2 separate regions of the Homo sapiens genome follow, and region 2 is linked to region 1. The links are contacts of gene promoters, found by promoter capture Hi-C in human tissues and cell types (Jung and others, 2019). All regions are on one chromosome and are shown on one strand. Each heading gives the region's core, a stretch centred on a gene start or on the middle of the fragment in contact. The rest is flanking DNA. Distances are from core to core; before and after follow the strand shown. Region 1 holds the start of WNT8A (Wnt family member 8A). Region 2 overlaps PKD2L2 (polycystin 2 like 2, transient receptor potential cation channel).

Region 1 (4,065 bases), core at 989-3,488:
TTTCCTCCTAGGTTTAGCATATCTAAAATTGCTCCAAATTGCTATAAAAATTTCTAAACACTTCTATTTTTGTAATTATCTTATGTCAGAAGGACAACAGTCAGTTTGCAGACCGACGCCAAGCCTGGCCCATACTTGGAGTATGCCCTAAAGACACCTGGGGACTCTTTGGCCCCTGGAACTCCTTTGGTGGGGGGATCTCTGAGCTCCACTTCCCACCCAAACCAGGTCCAAAGTTCTGGGAAGTGATCTGGATGTTGTAATGGTCACAGGATGGAGTCAGAACTGTGACTTTCCATCTATGCTTTCCTCTGAACTTCTCTAGACTTCCTTCTCCAGCCTTAGGAAAGAGCTTCAGCAACCAAGAAGGACTTTCCCACCTTTTGTTCTAGTCCCCAAGCATACCTAATGGTGCCCACTAGGGGTCACAGGGTCTTTCGTTTGTTCATCCAGGTGCCTTCTTAAGCTCTAAGAACCGAAAGTGAACCTAAAAGACATTCCTGGCTGGGTGCGGTGGCTCATGCCTGTAATCCCAGCACTTCAGGAGGCCAAAGGCGTGTGGATCACCTGATGTCAGGAGTTTGAGACCAGCCTGGCCAACATAGGGAAACCCTGTCTCTACTAAAAGTACAAAATTAGCTGGACATGGTGGCACATGCCTGTAATCTCAGCTACTGGGGAGGCTGAGGCAGGAGAATCACTTGAACACAGAGGTGGAGGTTGCAGTAAGTTGAGATGGCACACTTGCACTCCAGCCCGGGTGACAAGAGTGAAACTCTGCCTCAAAAAATAAAATAAAATAAGGCTGGGTATGGTGGCTCACGCCTGTAATCCCAGCACTTTGGGAGGCCGAGGCAGGTGGATCACGAGATTAAGAGATCGAGACCATCCCGGCCAACATGGTGAAACCCGTCTCTACTAAAAATACAAAAATTAGCTGGGCATGGTGGCGCACACCTGTAATCCCAGCTACTCCGGAGGCTGAGGCAGGAGAATTGCTCGATCCCAGGAAGTGGAGGTTGCAGTGAGCCGAGATCATGCCACTGCACTCCAGCCTGGCGACAGAGTGAGACTCCATCTCAAAATAAATAAATAAATAAATAAATAAATAAATAAATAAATAAATAAAATAAAATAAAAGACAGATTCCCACCTAAGGAGCTGAAGTCCTAGTAACAAAGTAGTATCAGAAAGAAAGGCATCAGGGCCACGCCCAGTGGCTCATGCCTATAATCCCAGCATTTTGGGAGGCCAAGGTGGGCAGATCACTTGAGCCCAGGAGTTCAAGACCAGGCTGGCCAACTGGCGAAACCCCTTCTCTACTAAAAATACAAAATTTAGCTGGGTGTGGTGGCTGGCACCTGTAGTCTCAGATACTTGGGAGGCTGAGGTAGGAGAATCACTTGAACCCAGGAGGCAGAGGTTGTAGTGAGCTGAGATTGCACCACTGCACTCCAGCCTGGGCGACAGAGCGAGAGACTCTGTCTCAAAAAAAAAAAAAAAAGAGAAAGGCATCAGTCTTCCCAAATATAACCCTGGGTGGCCCTAAGGTTGGTTCTCAGATATATAAAAAATCAACTAACTGGAGTTGTAACCCTCAGATATAAAAGGATAGATTTGCTAGGAATTAAGGAAATTTCCCAGCAGTTGCTAGAATGTGGTGGAAGGGACTGTTGCAGAGATGGACTCTGAAGTGTTCCTGCTCCATAGTCCCACAGCTCCATCACCTCACAGCCTTGAAGGAAGTGGTAGGGATGGCGCACTCACTGGTTTAGGTAAATGAGTAGGAAGCAGCCCCAGATGGAGTTGCTTTATGATTATTAACACCTTGGGGAGGATGGCAGGACAGAGAGTGGGCTCTCACTGACAGATGAGGACACTGTAGCTCCAAGAATAGGTGACCTGCCTTCAGGGTTAAGGACCCAGCCTGCTCTGGCCTACATGATTCTGAGAAATGGGCCAAAGAAGCAGGAAGAGACAAAATTGACATATAGAAGAAAGAAATCTCACGTATAGGAGAAAAGCAGCCTCCTTCTCATTCTGGGAGGGAAGAAGGGCTGGAGGGGCTGGGCAGGGCGGGGCTTTTGGCGAAAACTGAGTCCCTCCTCCCAGATCCCCCACTGGGCCGGTGGCTCCTGCAGCCCTGCCAGTTAGGAACAAATGAGAAGAGCTGCTGATTTCCTCCCTTGGACATTCAGAATTTTCTCACATAAATACTGAGGAAGACCCTGCCCTCTCCTCACTTCTCTGGACTTGGCCCTGAGCTGGACCTGGTCCACTGGGGTAGGCAGGGCGATGGGGAACCTGTTTATGCTCTGGGCAGCTCTGGGCATATGCTGTGCTGCATTCAGTGCCTCTGCCTGGTAAGTCCTTTCCCAACCCTCACTCCTTGCCAAGGAGGCCCCCATTGTCTCATCCCCATTCACCTCTGCCTCACTTTTTCTCTTTTTGGTAGGTCAGTGAACAATTTCCTGATAACAGGTCCCAAGGTAGGATGATCTCCAGCTTCTGTTTTTACCCACTGAGGGCCCTAAGGGGACTCTTCTGGAGAAAAGAGGGGCGGGGACAGTGCCAGAGCCCCTCACCCAGAGGAACCCATGGTTGATTCTTAATGGAGAGCTGGCCCATCTGAGTCCTGCCTGCTCCCCCAACCACAGATGACCCATACCGGGCAGAAGCTCACAGCCCTTTTCCCTTTGCCAGGCCTATCTGACCTACACGACTAGTGTGGCCTTGGGTGCCCAGAGTGGCATCGAGGAGTGCAAGTTCCAGTTTGCTTGGGAACGCTGGAACTGCCCTGAAAATGCTCTTCAGCTCTCCACCCACAACAGGCTGAGAAGTGGTAAGTTTGTGTGGGACTCACCTGTACAAGGGGTATATATGTGAATGGAGTGGGGCTTGCAGTATGTGTATATGTGTGACATGTATTGCACAGTGAAATAAAAATGCTGCCAGTGACCTGCTGACCTGCCATTTCCTTGCTGTGTGGCCTTGAGTAAATTACCTACCCTCTCTCAGCCCCAGATTTGTCATTTGGGTCAGTAAGGCCAGTTCTGTTTAGTTCATCAGAAGTATCCTATGGGTTGAATGAGGTGGGTATGAGGTGTCTCTATGTATGAGATAAATGTAGGAAATTACTCTTTTTTTTTTTTCTTTTTTTGAGACGGAGTCTCACTCTGTTGCCCAGGCTGGAGTGCAATGGCGCAATCTCGGCTTACCGCAACTTCCGCCTCCGGAGTTCAAGTGATTCTCCTGCCTCAGCCTCCCGAGTAGCTGGGATTACAGGCATGCAACATGCCTGGCTAATTTTTTGTATTTTTAGTAGAGATGGGGTTTCACCATGTTGGCCAGGCTGGTCTCAAACTCCTGACCTCAGGTGATCCACCCACCTCAGCCTCCAAAAGTGCTGGGATTACAGGCGTAAGCCACCGTGCCCAGCGGAAATTACTCTATTTTTTAAATGCATGCCTATATTTGTGCGTTTGTACACACTGATCTTGCACTGAGTTGCATGAAATAAAAATGGGGAAAGGGCTGTGTGTTTGCAGCTCCTGAGGAAGTTTCACATGGCTAACTGCCATAAAATCTCAACAGAAAAGCTGAGACGTCACATTGAGTTGTGCCTCAGGTGGGGTGTGTGTCTATGTGTGTGTATGGGTGTGCACGTGCACCCATTTGTAACTGTGTGCCGTAGTTTGCATGTCATTTTTGAAGATAACATTCACCTGAGAATAGTTAGGGGAACGAGAGTAAAGAAGACGGAGAAAGTGGCTAAGCACGTGTTGGAACCATGCCTATAATCCCAGCACTTTGGAAGGCTAAGGCAGGAGGATCGCTTGAGTTCAGGAGTTCGAGACCAGCCTGGGCAACATAGCAAGACCTCGTCTCTACTAAAAATAAAAGTAAAAATATTAGCCGGCATGGTAGCATGTGCCTGTAGTCCCAGAGACCTGGAAGGCTGAGTTGGGAGGATTTCTGGAACCCAGGAGTTCAAGGATATAGTGAGCTATGATCACACCACTACACTCCTGCCTGGGTGACAGAGCAAGACCTTGTCTCAAAAAA
Region 2 (4,065 bases), core at 579-3,078, 190 kb before region 1:
CTGTCCAGCAGAAACCAGCCTTCCCAAGAAGCTGTATTGAGGGTGGAGAAAACGGTTAGGACAGATGAGAGGTTTTACTTGTTTCGTATTTTGCTTTTTCATCTTAAGACTGGCGAGAAGACATCATGATATAAAATCTGTTAGTGGCCGGGCGCAGTGGCTCAAGCCTGTAATCCCAACACTTTGGGAGGCCGAGGCGGGCGGATCACAAGGTCAAGAGATCGAGACCATCCTGGCCAACATGGTGAAACCCCATCTCTACTAAAAATACGAAAATTAGCTGGGTGTGGTGGCGCGCGCCTGTAGTCCCAGCTACTCGGGAGGCTGAGGCAGGAGAATCGCTTGAACCGGGGAGGCGGAGGCTGCAGTGAGACGAGATCGCGTCACTGAACTCCAGCCTGGCGACAGAGCTAGACTCCGTCTCAAAAAAAAAATCTGTTATTAATAGTATATAGTAAAAAAATTATCCCTGCCTCGTAAAACTAAGAATTGAAAAATAGCCAGAAGCTATTGGAGCTTTCCTCCCCGCAGTGTAAGGACTAAAAGTGGCTGTGGTTTTTCCATTGTTGTCACTTATAAATTACATAATAATGTAAAGAAAAATTTTGTCTTATATCTCACAGGGGCTTCGAAACATAAGTTGCATTACAGAAAGGAAGTAGAAATTACAACCACACTTCAGGAATTGTTACTCTACTTTATTTTTTTAATAAACCTATGTATATGTAAGTACACAGATATAAAGATGCTGTTTGTTTGAACTAAGAAGTTAAAATGTGGAGATGAAAAATAAAACATACAAACTTCAAAACCACAGGCTGTCAGGCTACTAAAACTCAAAATACAGTGACACGTTTAAACATAATCTTAAATTCATTTAGATTCATTTCATTTAGAAATTGACTATTTTCAGTTCTTAAGGGGCAAAATTTTACATCGCAAATGTAAGAAGCTTCCATAGTCAATACTGACTGAATTAGAATTATTCCTTTCATTTGGCAGTTCTGTCTTGAGCATAATTCATCCCTTGGGTTGGCAACTGCAATTTGATTTTGTTTAGAGTCATATAGACACATCAGCTGAGTTTCATAAATCAAAGTACAAATGAGGCCAAAGTTCATCTTGGTGTCTGCCATTAGCTTGGTTCTTTTCACTGACCTATTGCAGTTAAAAAAATAGTTTGTGCTGAGTCAATGCAAATAATTAAGGAGGACTGGGAAAACATCTCAACCTGCATTCCTCCTACCTGTGGGTCAATAGCATTGGCTTAATATGCAAAGAGGAGTATTAAAGAGCATTTGTCGATGGCACCCAACATAACAGTAGATGAAAGCTCACTGGCAGTATTGTCTCATGTTGGTATGTGCTACACACTGGCAATTGTATAGCAATTAAGTAATTAATTGGTGTTGTAGGGGTGAGTTTGAGTCTGCTCTTGATTGAAAAGACAACTATAAAATTAGCCAGGTGTGGTGGCACACCCCTGTAGTCCTAGCTACTGAGAAGGCTGAGGTGGAGGATTGCTTGAGCACAGGAGGTCGAGGCTGCAGTGAACTGTGATTGCAACGACTGCACTTCAGCCTGGGTGACAGGCTGAGACCCTGTCCCAAGGAAAAAAAAAAAAAAGATAACTGTAGGCAACTTTATAAATTAAGATATCTTAGACTGCTTTATAAAAGCTTGGTTATGAAAACTACATGCTTACTACAGAACATTTGGAAAATGTAAAAATGTAAGTAAAAAGATCATTTATAATCCCATTATTCAGAGATTTTTAAAGAACACTTTTTTTAATATAATACAGCAACCTGAATCTCCATTTATAATGTGATTTTTTTTCTTTTTTTTTTCTTTTTTGAGACAGTCTCGCTCTGTCACCCAGGCTGGAGTACAGTGGCTCACTGCAACCTCCACCTCCTGAGTTCAAGCGATTCTCCTGCCTCAGCCTCCGGAGTAGCTGGGATTACAGGCCTGTGCCACCACGCCCGGCTAATTTTGTATGTTTTTAGTAGAGACAGGGTTTTCACCATGTTGGTCAGTCTGGTCTCGAACTCCTGATCTCAGGTGATCCACCCACCTCAGCCTCCCAAAGTTCTGGGATTATGGGTGCAACACCACGCCCCGCCACTAGTTAATATTTTTAAAAACTCATCATGTGCCAAAACACAGTTTAAAATGTTCTGTGTGCATCATCTCACTTCTCACAACAAAACTAGGGGGTAAGAGATACTATCCCTGTGATGGGACTCACACCCTTATCTGTCTGAATTCAAAGTCCATGTAACCTTAACCACTCACCATACTATATTGCCTTACTCTCATGTAGAGAAAAAGTCAACTTGCAGAATAGTGTGTATAATGTGTCCTCATTTTTGTAAAGATAAAATTATTTTCTTTATAAATGTGTATGCATAAAGAAATGTCTGAAGAATATTTGCCAGACTAATTCTAGAAACCACATCCTACTTTTTATATTTCTAGTTTAGATTTTTTAAATTATTACTTTTATAATTAGATTAATAAAGTTTAATTTTCAAAATTGAGAAAAAAATGTAACATTTTTAATCCTGATAAGCTGAGTTTTTAAATGTAAATTATTAAACAAAAAATTATTCTCCTTAGTGACTTTTGGGATGGTAAACCCACATATGTATTACTTAAACAAGGTTATGTCATCTCTATTTTTGGACACTTCTGTGCCTGGTGAAGAAAGAACCAACTTTAAGTCCATTCGCAGCATAACTGATTTTTGGAAGGTAAAGTATCTTGTGACTGTGGATGAAGTAGATTTAGGTAGTCCATGAACCCTTGGCATACACAGTGGGCACTCAATGAATATCTTTTGAAGAAATGAATAAAAATAAATGTCATTTCTTTAAACTATTAGAAACAACCAACCAGTAAGTGTTTTTGAGAGCCTGTGTTCTCAGTTTGATACTATTCTTGTAATTTTTTAAAAAATTTTTTTGGCCAGGCACGGTGGCTCATGCCTGTAATCCCAGTACTTTGGGAGGCCAAGGCGGGTGGATCACCTGAGGTCAGGAGTTCAAGACCAGCCTGACCAACTTGGTGAAACCTCGTCTCTACTAAAAAATACAAACATTAGCCAGGCATGGTGACAGCCACCTGTAATCCCGGGAGGTGGAGGTTACAGTGAGCCAAGATCATGCCATTGCACTCCAGCCTGGGCAACAGAGCTAGGCTCCATCTCAAAAAAAAAATTTTTTTTGATTTTTTTAGACATTCTCATTTCATTTGTTAAATAGAAGACTTGCATCTACTATGTGAGGGTTAGGATCTAGTCTATAATTGTGTATAGTGAAATTTACTTTTAAAAATTTCTTTAATTGCCCAGAAAGTGTAATATATGTGGTTTTGGCATAAAACCTTTACTGTTTATATGTGTTACAGTAAGGTACAGTATATAATAAAATTTATATATAAGAATATAATTTCATGGTGTTTTTACTTACGTAAGGGAATCATTCCTTCAGCAGTGGAATAGACTTGCTTTTTCCATTACATTTAACATAGCAACATGCTCACATTATGAAGAAAGAACAGTTAAGGGGACAGCAGTTTCAGCTATCCCAGGTCACAAAACCTGGCATATGCACATTGGGGCATATAAGGACAAGGCAGAGAACGCTTCCAGTGGTGATGACAATTTAGTTGCATTTTGAAGCATGAATCAGGGATGGGTATTTTAGGAAGAAGGAACAATATGTTCTATAAGTAATTCTACATGTGGAGCTATGTTTGGTATTGTGAGCATATGGAAGATGAGGTGGAAAAGACCAAATTATGAATTGGACAGAGTTCATATCATGAATGCTGTGCAGGAATTTGAAACTTATCAAGGAGACACGGTCATTTCCTGGAAGAGGGCAAGTGTGAGATGAGGGCTAAATGATCCTAGACGGTTGGTTTAGGCTAGGTGAAATAGGAAACAATAATAAAAGAGGTGGAGGTCACCTTGCCACTTTGTTATTGTGTTTTCTGAAGCATGTATGTGGCCAATGGCAGAGAAGACAAAGGGAGGAAGTAAATGAACCCTGGGCTTGG

What was found. Contacts are between HindIII fragments. The study calls those that stand out against the background at their distance.
Region 2: a contact is called between a fragment that was not itself captured here and the fragment with the promoter of WNT8A in region 1, in 3 of the 25 tissues and cell types used here (aorta, bladder and hippocampus).

The regions. Positions count from the first base shown.
Region 1 is chr5:138,081,795-138,085,859 of GRCh38, forward strand. It overlaps WNT8A (Wnt family member 8A), which reads left to right and starts at 2,239. Exons shown (of 5, transcript NM_001300939.2): 1 at 2,239-2,489; 2 at 2,704-2,842. The coding sequence starts at 2,334. The HindIII fragment of the contact is 19,757 bases long and covers 1-4,065 here.
Region 2 is chr5:137,889,858-137,893,922 of GRCh38, forward strand. It overlaps PKD2L2 (polycystin 2 like 2, transient receptor potential cation channel), which reads left to right. Exons shown (of 15, transcript NM_001300921.2): 2 at 624-725; 3 at 2,623-2,756. Among named protein-coding and RNA genes, the nearest start is that of PKD2L2, 2.4 kb to the left of the region's middle. The HindIII fragment of the contact is 6,072 bases long and covers 1-4,065 here.